Linked DNA regions of Homo sapiens: regions 1 and 3 are each linked to region 2. The links are contacts of gene promoters, found by promoter capture Hi-C in blood cells and fetal thymus (Javierre and others, 2016). All regions are on one chromosome and are shown on one strand. Each heading gives the region's core, a stretch centred on a gene start or on the middle of the fragment in contact. The rest is flanking DNA. Distances are from core to core; before and after follow the strand shown.

Region 1 (4,347 bases), core at 303-2,802, 480 kb after region 2:
GCGCCTGACACATAGCAGGTACCCAACAATGTTAGTTCCCTTTCTCTCCCTTCTTTCTCGCAACACCATACATGTTCCTCGGCCTTTCTGGGCATTTTTTACTGGTTAAAGATGGTACTGAACCAAACAAACTAATCTTCTTTTGTAGCTCTAACATTCTGTGACTCTAATTCGCATATTCTCGTTTGTTCTTCTATGCACTGCCATCATTTGGATCTAAAATGAGTGGCAGAGGAATACTACTAGTCTCTAGGTTGACTTAGCATACCTAAAACCACTTGCAGGAGTTTTGAAATTCAAACAATACAAATAACTGTTTAATGTGATGCATCCATGTCATTCCTCCTTATTCTTGAATTACTCTCTTGAACTATGTAGATAACAGTGTTAAGTAAATGTCCTTACATATTGCTTAACATATTTGCCCATCTTTTCTAGTTTCCCTACAGAAAATGTCTTCATAGTATCCTAGGGGTTCTTGGCCCATCCTCCAACCCTAAAGGTAAGACTACTGTAATTAAGGGGAATTCTTTACTCAGTATTGGTGCTTTAATGGGGTCTTCCTGAAATGAACTGTGAATCTCTAAGAAAATTATCCTATAAATTTCACTAACTCAACCATAATTTTTCCTTCCATCCTGTATCCCTCTCTTCTTTATAAGCAATTATATCCAAGCTGGGCGCGGTGGCTCACTTTGGGAGGCCGAGCACTTTGGGAGGCCGAGGCGGGTGGATCACAAGGTCAGGAGTTCAAGACCAGCCTGGCCAGCATGGTGAAACCCTGTCACTACTAAAAATACAAAAAATTAGCTGGGCATGGTGGCACGCACCTGTAATCCCAGCTACTTGGGAGGCTGAGACAGGAGAATTGCTGGAACCTGGGAGGTGGAGGCTGCAGTGAGCCGAGATCACACCACTGCACTCCAAGAAGAGCAAGTCCATCTCAAAAATAAATAAATAAATAAATAAATAAATAAATAAATAAATAAAAATAAGGAATTATACCCCAAGTCTCTTTCTGCAGCCCAGCTACCAGACTCTTCTAGTTCTCCCTTCTTACCCTTATTTCCACCTCTTATATTGCTTCATTTTCTGAGACTTTTGGTCCCCTAACAGAAATTATAAATATTAACACTAGTATAAGGCCAAACTAAAAAGTTCCAGACTTTAAAAAAGGGACCAGGCTACTAAGCTTTCTTTAGGTCTTTGAATTCAGCCTGTTTTCTCCAGGTCCAAATGCATTCAAAATTGCATTAGCCTTGGTGAGGAGGGTCATCTACAAGCTGATCCTCACCAAGGGTGTCCCTCATTAGGCACTATTGTAGTTCTGAGACTGAGGAGGGAGAAGGATCCCCTCCTAGAGAGTCCATCAGATAGGCCCCTTAGGTAGAGAAAAGACATCCTCCAAGACTCAGACTTTGTTCTTTACTTAGCTCTGACTGCTATATGGTGGACTTCTTAAAGGTTTCTTCATGCTGCCTCCCTCAGGGTTGGTTTGGCCTGGATAAAATGCCCTTCATTCCTTTAGAGCTGTCAATACTATCTGTAGTTTACAAACATGCCAGAGCAAGATATCAAAAAGTCCATCCATTTACAGGTCCTAGAGAACCTGGGTCTAAGTAAATTTATTTCATGGCTATACCTTCTTATTCCACAGAAGTATGCTGTAGCTGAAGGTTGCAAATTGAGAATGGTCCACTAACAAACTACCCACTTAGAGGGTATGAAAGACAAACTCAGTATCAGTCTCTTTCTCTCAGCCTTGGAGTACTAATTTTTTGAGATAAGAGATATGAGAGAAATCCAGTGGTCAAAGTGTTTTGGCACCCCAGTGATTAATCACCAGGACATTAAAGCAACTCTTATCTGCTTTCTCTTAGATACCAGAGAGCCCTCTTCTCACCAAGCTTTACTTCCCACAGACACCATCTGCAACTGAGCTTAGAAATGTCATCAGCAAAAGCAACAATCTCAGGATATGGAAGAAGAGGATAAAAAGGTGAAGGTTGAAAGAGGGGAAGCAGGAAGACAGAAAGATGACTCCCTGCCTTTCCTGGCCAGGGTACAAAATAATCTTTTGTACCCTACATAACACAAATGAAAAGCTCCTTTCATAGCTCCTAGCAATAAGAAAGTATGGTTAGTTTACTTTCTCCTTCACTTTCCACTACAGTAGGTTGAGGATCCAGATAGACATTTGTCTTCTGAATTGACTCTCATTACCTTTCAAAACAATGAAATAGCAGTAACTCTAAATACCTGGTAGGGTTAAGCAATCAATACCGATGGTAGGCCTAAATTATTCCAGTTGAATGGTGAGTGGGGAGAAAGAGAAATAGGGAAAAGAAGTGGGTGGATAGGAGATGGAGAGACAGTTGCGTACAGTAAGGAGTACCACCAGTAATTCCTTCAGGTGTCGTACTCCCCCAGTCTTTCAACTCTGGCTTGGAGTAATCTCCTACTTGAGAGAATTCCTAATTAGGAACACTGGAGGTGTTCCTACAGATAAGAACTGTCACACCTGGACAGTAAAATTAACCAAAGTGTCCAGGAATGCTCACCTTGCCTCTCAGGACAACCAGAAGACTCAGCAGTTCCACCTCTCCCTTGGAATGGTTGAGTGCTTCCTCCCTTGAGGAATTCCCCATTCCCATTCCACTTAGCCCTTATGGATGATTAGGATATGAAAAGTCACTCCATAGTTAAAAAACAGTCAAGCTATGAGGCAATCTTTAATAACAATGGAAATCCCAAGATCAGCACCAAGAGCATTAACTGTTTACTTCTTTGAGGCATTAACCATACAGTTAAGGATGCCTATCTAGGAAAGAACAGTGCCTAAGAAATTGAGGTACTGAACAGCATGGTTTCTGGTTAGAAATGGCCTTGGGTATGACAGAAAAATCTAGGTTAGTAAGGTCCTCAGCCTTTAGGCCCAGAATTGAAAAGACACTGCTTCAATTTTCACTGCTATGAAGTGAAAACAGTATTTTCTAGTAGGTTGAAGTTTATACCCCAATCATGAACTTGCAACCAGGAACACATAATTCCAGAAATTGGAACAATCTTGAGCTCTCCATTCTCCTTATAAGATGTGACTTAGCCCACAGGAAAGGGAACACCACTTAAACTTTTGAGGATTCAAAAACAGGTTAGCAACTCTCATCATCACCAGTTTTTGAACTCAACTTCCTTCTAATTTCCCTTGCTCTGGTGTATCCCTTAACCTTCCTGTATGACTTGCTCACCCCATTTACAACTTCAGATACCTATCGCCCTTCTTTCTTTCTCCTAGTGGACTTTATCTGCCCTCTGCCCATTTGTCATAACTAGCAGGATTGCAGCACATACCACAGGGGCAAATTTATCCTGTGTTCTAAGCCATGAAAGAGAAGGGGAAGCAATTCTGTCTTCAGGTGGAGATGGGAAAGATTTTGGAAACAATAGAGATTTTAACTTTTAAACAACTTTTTGATTCACTTTCTGGATTGGCAACGCATCGGGAAATCTCAGCAAAGGTAGGTACACTAATCCCCATGCTGACTCTGCATGTAATAACATGGGAACTGAGGTAGGGTGGGTGGTGAAGTCTGGTTTAAGACTATCCTTTGGGTCTAAACAGCCTCTTACCAACTTCCCTTGATGACAGTTGAGCTCAAACCCACTTACCTCTCCTGTCAGGAGGAGTCAGGGTACATGAAGCTCAACTCTTTTGATGGTTTGGTACCATTATTTGTATAACTTTTCTACTTTAAAAAAATCACATTTCATGGTTTTTCCCAACTCATTTATTCTCTAGTTCCTAGTCTAGCGTTTTCAAGCACCTCTTCAAATCCTGATAACCTTTTGCTGGGAGGGGGAGTTAATGAGTCTATAATGATTCTGAGACAGAGAACCCCTAAGATAAAGTGGAGGAAAAACGTCCTTTATACATGATTAGATATGCTCAGGGGGTACAGATTAAGAAGTAAATGCAATGGAGCAAAAGTGGTATAGTAACAGGAAATATTTAATTTTCCAATCTCCACTTTCCATTTTTATAAACTGAAAGAAAAAAATTTAATATATTACAAAATATCTGTACATAGACAAGATACACCCAATGGGGGTCAAAAACGAGAGAGAAAGGAATCAGTGTCAGGAACCTAAATCAGGGAGAATGAGGTGGCAACTGACACTTTTCTGATGCAGCATTCTCTCTCAAAACCTGCTGGTAACCATTTTAGCACGGTAACTATATATGCATATTATATATACACACACACATACAAGTGGTTGGGTGATGTCTATGGCATAAGCTAATAGAAGTTCTACTTGCAAATTTGTGCTAACTGCCCTGCTTTAAAC
Region 2 (4,236 bases), core at 700-3,199:
GGCCGCTGTGCAGTCGGCTGAGGCCAGAGTGAGGGGTGCAAGGACCCAGATGGGGAACACTGCTGTTTAAATATTAAACAGGGATTTCTTGTCTCCCACGTGGGAGACCTGATACTCTCAAGGGTCCCAGGTGGGGACCCTCAGGACCAGGGGCTCACAGCGGCTCATCCCAGTGCCCATTGCAGAGCCAGGGCTGGGGAGCAGTCATAGTAATAAATACTTGGTATTTACCTATCTACCTCCCAGTCCAGGGGATGGGAGGACAGGAGCTTTTTCTCACTGCTACAGGCAGGAGAATGAAACTCAGAAATGCAGGGAAGGACACAGAGGCCTGGGGCTCCGTTCTGCTCTTCCCTGTCTTTAAATATGAGGCTTAAATAGACATAAATATTAAATAGAGATAAATACATGGGATGGGGAGGGCTTGGCTCAGGGCTGGGCAAGGTGGCGTAGAACGCGGTACGACACCTCCAGGAAGCTCTGCAGATGGGAGGCAACCAGGACCCCTCCTGCCCGGCGCTGGAAAGCAGAGGCGAAGGCCGGCATGGCACCCTGGGTGGGCTGCAGGGCAGGGGCCATTCCCAGTTCTTCCATCTGTGGGGGAAAGCTGTGATCAGTGGTTGGGCCCTTCTGAGTGGGCGTTATTACAAATGAGGAAATGCTGGGGGTGACAGCATGGACAGGGCCCATACACAGGCCTGGCTGTGGTGCCCAGAATGCCAGCACGACCTTGGCCACCCTGCCCAACAAGGCTCACCTGCTGCCAGATGGTGGTGGCAAAGTCGGCGACGTCCAGCTGCAGTGTGTCCAAGGTGGGACCCAACTCGGGGGAGATCCCTTCCAGGGCCTGCAGGAGCCCCTGGTAGAGGAAAAGGCCGCTATGGAGTTGGCTCAAGCAGCCTGCCTGTGAGACAGAGCGGAAGAGTTAGGGGGTGCTGCCTGAGATACGTCAGGCCCCCAGCTTGGAACCTGGAGACATGGGGGAGCCCATGGGTGTTCCTCCTCTCCTTCCCCCTCCTCATTAGCCTTATCCTTTCCTGACACTCACCAGCTGCAGGGCCTGGCTGGGGCAGCTGCTCAGGGGAGCCCAGGGGATGCCCAGAGAGTGTCCGAGCAGCACCAGCTCCTCGGGGTGGCACAGCTTGTAGGTGGCACACTGGGGATGGAAGGATGCTGAGTGAGACTCGCCATGGCCGGGTCGCCGCTCCTTCCCGGGTCCTCCCCGACTCTCTGGTCTTTCCCCTCCCTCCATGTCCTGCCAGGCTGTTCAGTTCCTCTCTGCCCTGCACCCCCACTCTCTGATCTCACAGGGGCCCTTGCCCTTTCTCCTGAATGTAATGCCTCCACTCCCATCCCAGCCAGCCCTCCCGAGCACTGTCCCCACCAAGGTCCTCCTCCCCAAGTCCCTTCCCAGCCTTCCCCAGCTCCACTGCTCCTAATATTCTCCCACGTCCCTTCCAGAGGATGTTGGCCCTGCAGTTCCATCCCCCTTAGCTCTCCCCACCGGGCTTCCCTCCACAGCCCTCTCACCCACCTCACTCACCAGCTTCTCCTGGAGCGCTGCGCCATCGCCCTGGATCTTCCTCACTTGCTCTAAGCACTTGAGCAGGAAGCTCTGGGGCAGGGAGCTGGCAGGGCCCAGGGGGGTGGCTTCCTGCACTGTCCAGAGTGCACTGTGCCACAGCAGCAGCTGCAGGGCTGGGGACAGAGCGGGCTCAGGAGACATGCTGTTCCCTACCACCTGAGGCCCTCTCGGGGACACTGGGTGCCTTTAATCCCCATTCCCAGAACGGGGATCCCCAGCCCCTCTGTCACACCAGCCTCCCTCCCATGCCAGGGCAGGCGGCTCTCCCATCCTGGGCCAAGACACTCACCCATCAGCTTCATGGGGCTCTGGGTGGCAGGTCCAGCCATGGGTCTGGGTGGGGCTGGGCTGCAGGCTCCGGGCTGTTTTGGGGCCCAGCTCTAGGGGGGCCTTTATACATAACCCCATGGAGGCCTGGGAGGAAATTACCTGGGGCCACGACTAAGGCTTAGTAATAACTTCCCAGGATTTATGCAAATTTGGTGTCCAAGACAATGCAGGGGGGTTGGAACAAAAAGCTGTTTGCGAAAGTTTTGTGAAATTGTGGAATCTCTGATCCTCCTTTGACGTCGCCTTGCCCCCCTCAAACTCCCTTCCTCCCGCTGCCCCACCCAGGCCTGAATGGCCCCAGAGTGTTTGAACAGAACAGCTGAACAAAGGCTGAGCCGCTGATAGACGCCTGGAAGCGGCAGCAGCCTGTGGGGAAGTGGCAGCTGAGTCGGGGTCTCCCTCTCTGCTCTGGCAGACTTGCGGGGGCAGTGTCCTTTGCCCCTCTCCTTTGGGATTCTCAAGCCTGTCCCCCAAGCCCCCAAATTCTAAGAGAGAAAAAAAGAAGCTGGTTGCTCCCATTCCTACCCCCAAACTCTCCGGAGGCTGCCTGTCTGGGAGACCTCCTGAGCCCCTACCTGAGATAAGGACATTGGGTCTTGGCTGCTGTGCCCACCCCACACTTGGATAGGCACCATCGAAAGTTCCAGGCTGTCCTGTCCCAAGTTGATTAGCTGGGAACTCCCCCAGAAACCCCCCCGCCCCCCATGACTCATTCGGCTAAAGCCCCTAGAATCCCGGTAGAGCCAGAGGAAACCGGATGTCTGTCCCGAATGAGGCAAGACCCTTCGAGGCGATTGGCTCACCTGACCTTCACCTCCTCGTGCACGACCCTGACAGTAGGGTCCCCAAGGGCTTTGGAACTGCGGGATTGGGACACGTGACTTCCCTGGTCATTCACCTTGAAGTGGACACGGGCTGGGGTGAGAGAGGGGAAACTGCCCCATCTTCTCATCTTAGAACCATGCAGCGTTAATGCTGGAAGGGACCTTGGAGTCGATTCCAACCCCGTGAACTGGGCCAGGGAAGGAAGTGCCTTGCCCAAGGTCATGGTAAGTGACAGAATTACAGCCTGGGCCTCTGGCTCAGACCTGAACGTTTTCTTTTTCTTTTCCAGATGGAGTCTTGCTCTGTCGCCCAGGCTGGAGTGCAGTGGCGCGATCTCGGCTCACTGCAAACTCTGCCTCTCGGGTTCACGCCATTCTCCTGCCTCAGCCTCCCGAGTAGCTGGAACTACAGGTGCCCGCCACCATGCCCGGCCAATTTTTTGTATTTTTAGTAGAGACGGGGTTTCACCGTGTTAGCCAGGATGGTCACGATCTCCTGACCTCGTGATCCACCCGCCTCGGCCTCCCAAAGTGCTGGGATTACAGGCGTGAGCCACCGTGCCCGGCCTAGGCCTGAACGTTTTCTACAGGCCACAAGGCCTGCCTGGGGCAGTCTGACTGACCACACCCAAGACTGTCACCTTCTGTCCTAATTTACCCCAGCGTGCCAAGAAACAGACATCTCTGGATGAGAAGTGGATGTGGTGACTGGATGGGGCCATCTCTGGTGCTTGGGGGCCCCCTGGTGGTCACCAATGGCAGGGACGTCTGATCTCACACACTGATCTCACACACTGTTATCTGGTCCGCGGTCCTGCAGCTCCGCCTTAGCTCTGTGGCTCAGCACCTTGCACTGATGTGGCCCAGCTCTGTACCCAGCTCCCTGGGAGTAGAGGGTGGGTTTTTGTTGTTGTTTTTTTGAGATGGAGTTTCGCTCATTGCTCAGGCTGGAGTGCAATGGCACGATCTCGGCTCACTACAACCTCCGCCTCCCTGGTTCTAGTGATTTTCCTGCCTCAGCCTCCCAAGTAGGTGGGATTACAGGCATGCACCACCATGCTCATCTAATTTTGTATTTTTAGTAGAGGTGGGATTTCACCATGTTGGTGGTCAGGCTGGTCTCGAACTCCTGACCTCAGGTGATCCACCCGCCTCGGCCTCCCAAAGTGCTGGGATTATAGGCATGAGCCACTGCACCTGGCCTTGAGGGTGGGTTTTTAACAGGACCATGGAAGGCAGGAGCTCCACATTCTTAAACATGTTGCCTGGCAACTATTGCATTGCACACCTCTTATATGTCAGGCACTTTTTTTTTTTTTTTTTAAGACAGAGTTTGGCTCTTGTTGCCCAGGCTGGAGTGGGTGGAGTGCAATGGCACGATCTCGGCTCACTGCAACCGCCGCCTCCTGGGTTCAAGTGATTCTCCTGCCTCAGCCTCCTGAGTAGCTGGGATTACAGGCATGCTCCACCACTGCCCCCACAGCCGGCTAATTTTGT
Region 3 (4,222 bases), core at 1,722-4,221, 290 kb before region 2:
TCTTCCTCAGCAGTCTGAATTACACTTAAGACTTTACTGACAAACATATATCAGCTTTTGCTCCCACAAGGGCAGCAGAAGCCAAGCAGGGACACTAAGTCTGCTTCATGCATCATTGACAGAACCAACCCTGTTCCAACTGCTAAAGTCTTAAGAGCAGCAATGACCTAGAAATTGACAGTGAGGGGAGAAGAAAAGGAAACTAACAAATCAGTAGACAGAAAACTCTATTTCCAAAACCAGGGGAAAGGGAAAGATAGAGGGGAAAGAAATTTGGCCCCTTTGAATCTACCAATGTGATTTTGGCTGGAAGCCAGGGAGGATACATAGCAGCCCCACTGCGAGTCAAGCCATGTTCCTGACTCAAGCCCTACAGTTAAGAGGAAGGCGCCAAGCCTCAAACACAATGAGGTGGGGAGGCTGCTCCTTATTGGGCAGGATCCTACTGTGGACACAGAACAGACAGCAGCTGCCCACAGTGTGGAAACAAACTGTAAAGCAGTCACGTCTCTTAAGGCTGCAGCATCCAATAAAATGTAATTTAAATCAAGCTTCGCATCTGTTCTCAATCCCATTCAGTCTCTGCTTTCCATCAGCCTTCGGACAATCTTTGCAATTATGCATGTTAACCCTTATAGTCCCAGACACTTTCCAACCTTCTAGGTATAGAACTGTGTTTCCATGTTCAAACTACCTTCAGAGGGAACGAATACTCTAGTAAAGGAGTGTGAGAACAACATTCAGACTCATGCCTACAGACTATCATGTGCTACACACACCAGTGGGTAGTGTTCATTTCAGAGGGCTCTCTCTGCTTTCCTTGCCTCTATCCCATACCACCTGTTGTAGCTCAGATCACATTACACGGATACAGTGGTCAGGATGAATGAAACAGTGGCCAACAGATCACTTGTACACATATCAAGTTCCAAATGGAAGGCCATGTCAGAAAGGTAGAGGCGGCAGCAGGAGAGCTCAGGGAAAAGCAGACTTGGTCACTGGCTCTCAGATCATTCGTATCACACATGGTTTACATTTCAAGCATTTGCTTCAGTTATGAAAGGACAGCAATCTCCCAAACAAATCAAACTAGAACTTCCCCCTTTCCCTCAAAACTACCTCAGCCTCAAGCATCCCCTTTCAAAGTAGTCAATGTTATAAGGGTGCCCTCTGGTGTCTCAGTCACAAATTGCCATTTAATGCCACCAAACCAAACCCAGAAGGCTCTTGATTAACCAACCATATGGACTAATTTATCTAATAAGACTGGAAAAATGTGTTTAGATGAAAACCCAACCCCAAAGTAGTCATCTTGAAACAAGTGGCTTCATCTAAGGGCAGCAAAGACTGTGGGACAGCCTAGGAAGGAATTTTCACATTGACTTCTGAAAGCTTGAGCTCTCTTGAAATCTGATTGCTTAAAAAGACAAAGAATGCAACTTGAAAATAAATATATTCACAATCTGTAGAGTTATAGTCTCCTTATGACCCCAACGCCCTTGGGAGTGCCCAAGAAACTCAACGAGTCTAAAATGCCACAATGTTGTAGTATCTGCACCATGAACATAGTATACTATACAAAGAAATAAATTCTTTAACCAGTGTCCTCCAAATCTCCATGTGGACTTGCTTGCATTTTTCTGGATCATTTTCATTCTTCTTACCCTAAACTTAAAGTTCTTAACAAAATACCTTAATGGCTGAGCATGGTGGCTCACGCCTATAATCCCAGCACTTAGGGAGGCCAAGGTGGGCAGATCACTTGAGGGTCAGGAGTTCAAGACCAGCCTGGCCAACATGGTAAAACCCTGTCTCTACTAAAAATTAAAAAATTAGCTGGGCGCGGTGGTGGGCACCTGTAATCCCAGCTACTCGGGAGGCTGAGGCAAGAGAATCACTTCAACCTGGGAAGCGGGTGCTGTAGTGAGCAGAGAACGCGCCATTGCACTCCAGCCTGGGCAACAGGGTGAGACGCGCCTCAAAAACAACAACAACAAAAAAAACAAACAAAAAAATACCCACTCATGTTTGAGCAAACGAAGAGGTAAATATACACACATTCCTCTACACAGATCTGTACACTTGCAAGCACATTGGCTAGAGATACACAAGTGGTAGAAGTAGTGAATGTAATTAAAAAGGGTCTACCTGGTCACTTTTATGGGTAAAAATAGTAAGACCCAAAGATATTATTCTGTGCTAATATTAAAGAATCTATAGATTAAAATTCATTGGCTTCAAGTAAAAAAGGTCATATTTGTTTTCAGGCCCGAATGTGTAAAGCACTAAAATGAAGACTGTAGCTCTCTAAATGCCAGCTGAATACTTTCGGGTGGGGTGTAAGAGAAGAATTTAAGGCAATCCAGTAGCTAAGATATTTCCAATTAAAGCTTTATCTTTCAGAGCATGTTCTATTTCTTTCTCTTCAATCTTGAAAAACACCTGGAAAGAAGAGAAAAGGATTTTTCACACTGGGGAACTCACAAAAGCAAAGTTGTCAGTATACAAACTTCTACCATATTAAACTTTTTCTCACAAAAGGCAAGCAAGTTAAACACTTTTTTTTCCAATGGCTTGAAAAAATATTCATATCACACTCCCATCTTTACACACCTTAAACCTTACCTAACAAAAAACGACTTGTTTAACTAACTGTGGTCATCTTGTTTAACAATAAACCTTTACTTTAGCATCACTCTACAAAATAGGACAATTAAAAACACTGTCACAAAAAAGCAGTTGTACCTTTGTCAAACGGGTTTCCTTGTTTCTCTTTAATCCTAAAATGCCCCTGGCTTCCAAGAGCCCTGAAAGTGACAAACACTCTGACTGGTCCACAGCCGCCACCTGCTGTTTGCGACAGACTTTACTGTAGGCTTCATATAACTGGTAGGAAACAAGGGAGAACAAACGCTGCTTAAAAGTCACATTGCTTATAGCCTTTAATCATTTAAGAAACCTGAGTCTGGGTTTGCAAAAACTTATCTGAATACCCTATTTCTTCCTCTTTTCAATAAAATCTTTGAACAGGCTTCTGTAGATATTCCCGAAAACCTATACAGTAATGTAGGAAAGGGGCTTTATATATTTCCTAGAGAGATGCAGAAATGAAGGGGAGGATAGGGAAAGGATTAATGATAAACTCTCAACCACAATCCAAGGGAAATAGGTGCCTTTTATATAGTACCAGTATTAATTCTTACTGTTAAAATCCATTTTAAATTTATTATCAGCTGAAGTATCATAGGCCTTTTGGAAAATACCTGCTCTGCAAAGCAGATTCTGATCTCTACCTCCGTTCCATCTGCTCCATCCCAACTTACCTTCCCCAGAGTGACCTCTTTGATTTTCAACTGCCTGATCAAGAGCATCAAAGAGCAAACCAAGATCTTCTGCTGAAGAGGGAAGGAATCTTGTGCTCCTTCTTGGCTCAAGGTCATCCTGTTACCATCAACTTCTGAGATGACTTGGGATATGTGAATAAGACCAACCCTCTTGGGAATCAGAGGCTCAGAAGGTGATTTACCTATAAAGTAAATAAGCCAAGCTTAATTCGATTTCTAAAATACTGTGTGTGTGTATGTATGATGAGACAGATGATACTAAGTTTGAGCTAAAGGAAATTCAAGTATAGTCACATGGTGGCAAAGCAGAGGTTTTAAATCTCTAACCAGAGGCCAAAGGATGAGAGATAATGCTATTCTCTTAAGGATGTCAAAATAATGTGGGATGACTTGAAAAGTAGGGTTACCCTTTCTCTGGGCCAAATAGTGAGCTGTTTTGTCCTATGGAATGTAATTTAATGTCAGAGGAACAAAACCCACCTCATGAAAGGACCAGAGAACTACTGTATTTTTTTTTGGGACAGGATCTCTGTCACTCAGGCTGGAGTACAGTGGCACTATCATGGCTCACTGCAGCCTTGGCTTCCTGGGTTCAAGTGATCCTCCTGCCTCAGCCTCCTGTGTAGCTAGGATTACAGGTACGTGCCACCATGCCAGGCTAGTTCCTAGTATCTCAGAGGTATAGAATAACAGAACCTTGAAGCAAAGATGGTGACTGTGCTTGGTAATTAAGAAAGGAAAAAAAAGGCCAGGTGCAGTGGCTCACGCCTGTAATCCCAGCACTTTGGGAGATCAAGGCGGGCAGATCACCTGAGGTCAGGAGTTGGAGACCAGCCTGCCCAACACGGCGAAACTCCATCTCTACTAAAAATACAAAA

Evidence for each region. The method cuts DNA at HindIII sites, captures the fragments that hold promoters and counts their contacts. A CHiCAGO score of 5 or more calls a contact.
Region 1: a contact is called between a fragment that was not itself captured here and the fragment with the promoter of CSF3 in region 2, in 1 of 17 cell types (total B cells). The highest score is 7.0, in total B cells.
Region 3: a fragment that was not itself captured here is called in contact with the fragment with the promoter of CSF3 in region 2 in 1 of 17 cell types (erythroblasts); the score reaches 5.1 in erythroblasts.

The regions. Positions count from the first base shown.
Region 1 is chr17:39,534,189-39,538,535 of GRCh38, reverse strand. CDK12 (cyclin dependent kinase 12) reads right to left here. Exons shown (of 14, transcript NM_016507.4): 14 at 3,992-4,347. Among named protein-coding and RNA genes, the nearest start is that of NEUROD2, 72 kb to the left of the region's middle. The HindIII fragment of the contact is 715 bases long and covers 1,195-1,909 here.
Region 2 is chr17:40,013,153-40,017,388 of GRCh38, reverse strand. It overlaps CSF3 (colony stimulating factor 3), which reads right to left and starts at 1,949. Exons shown (of 5, transcript NM_172219.3): 1 at 1,875-1,949; 2 at 1,544-1,698; 3 at 1,049-1,156; 4 at 758-904; 5 at 1-594. The coding sequence starts at 1,914. The coding sequence ends at 430. PSMD3-AS1 (PSMD3 antisense RNA 1) reads left to right here and starts at 2,748. Exons shown (of 3, transcript NR_198981.1): 1 at 2,748-2,835; 2 at 3,030-3,151. RefSeq lists an enhancer at 1,540-2,039. The HindIII fragment of the contact is 16,036 bases long and covers 1-4,236 here.
Region 3 is chr17:40,300,132-40,304,353 of GRCh38, reverse strand. It overlaps CDC6 (cell division cycle 6), which reads right to left. Exons shown (of 12, transcript NM_001254.4): 10 at 3,324-3,526; 11 at 2,746-2,886; 12 at 1-2,442. The coding sequence ends at 2,353. Among named protein-coding and RNA genes, the nearest start is that of RARA, 6.9 kb to the left of the region's middle. The HindIII fragment of the contact is 1,157 bases long and covers 2,393-3,549 here.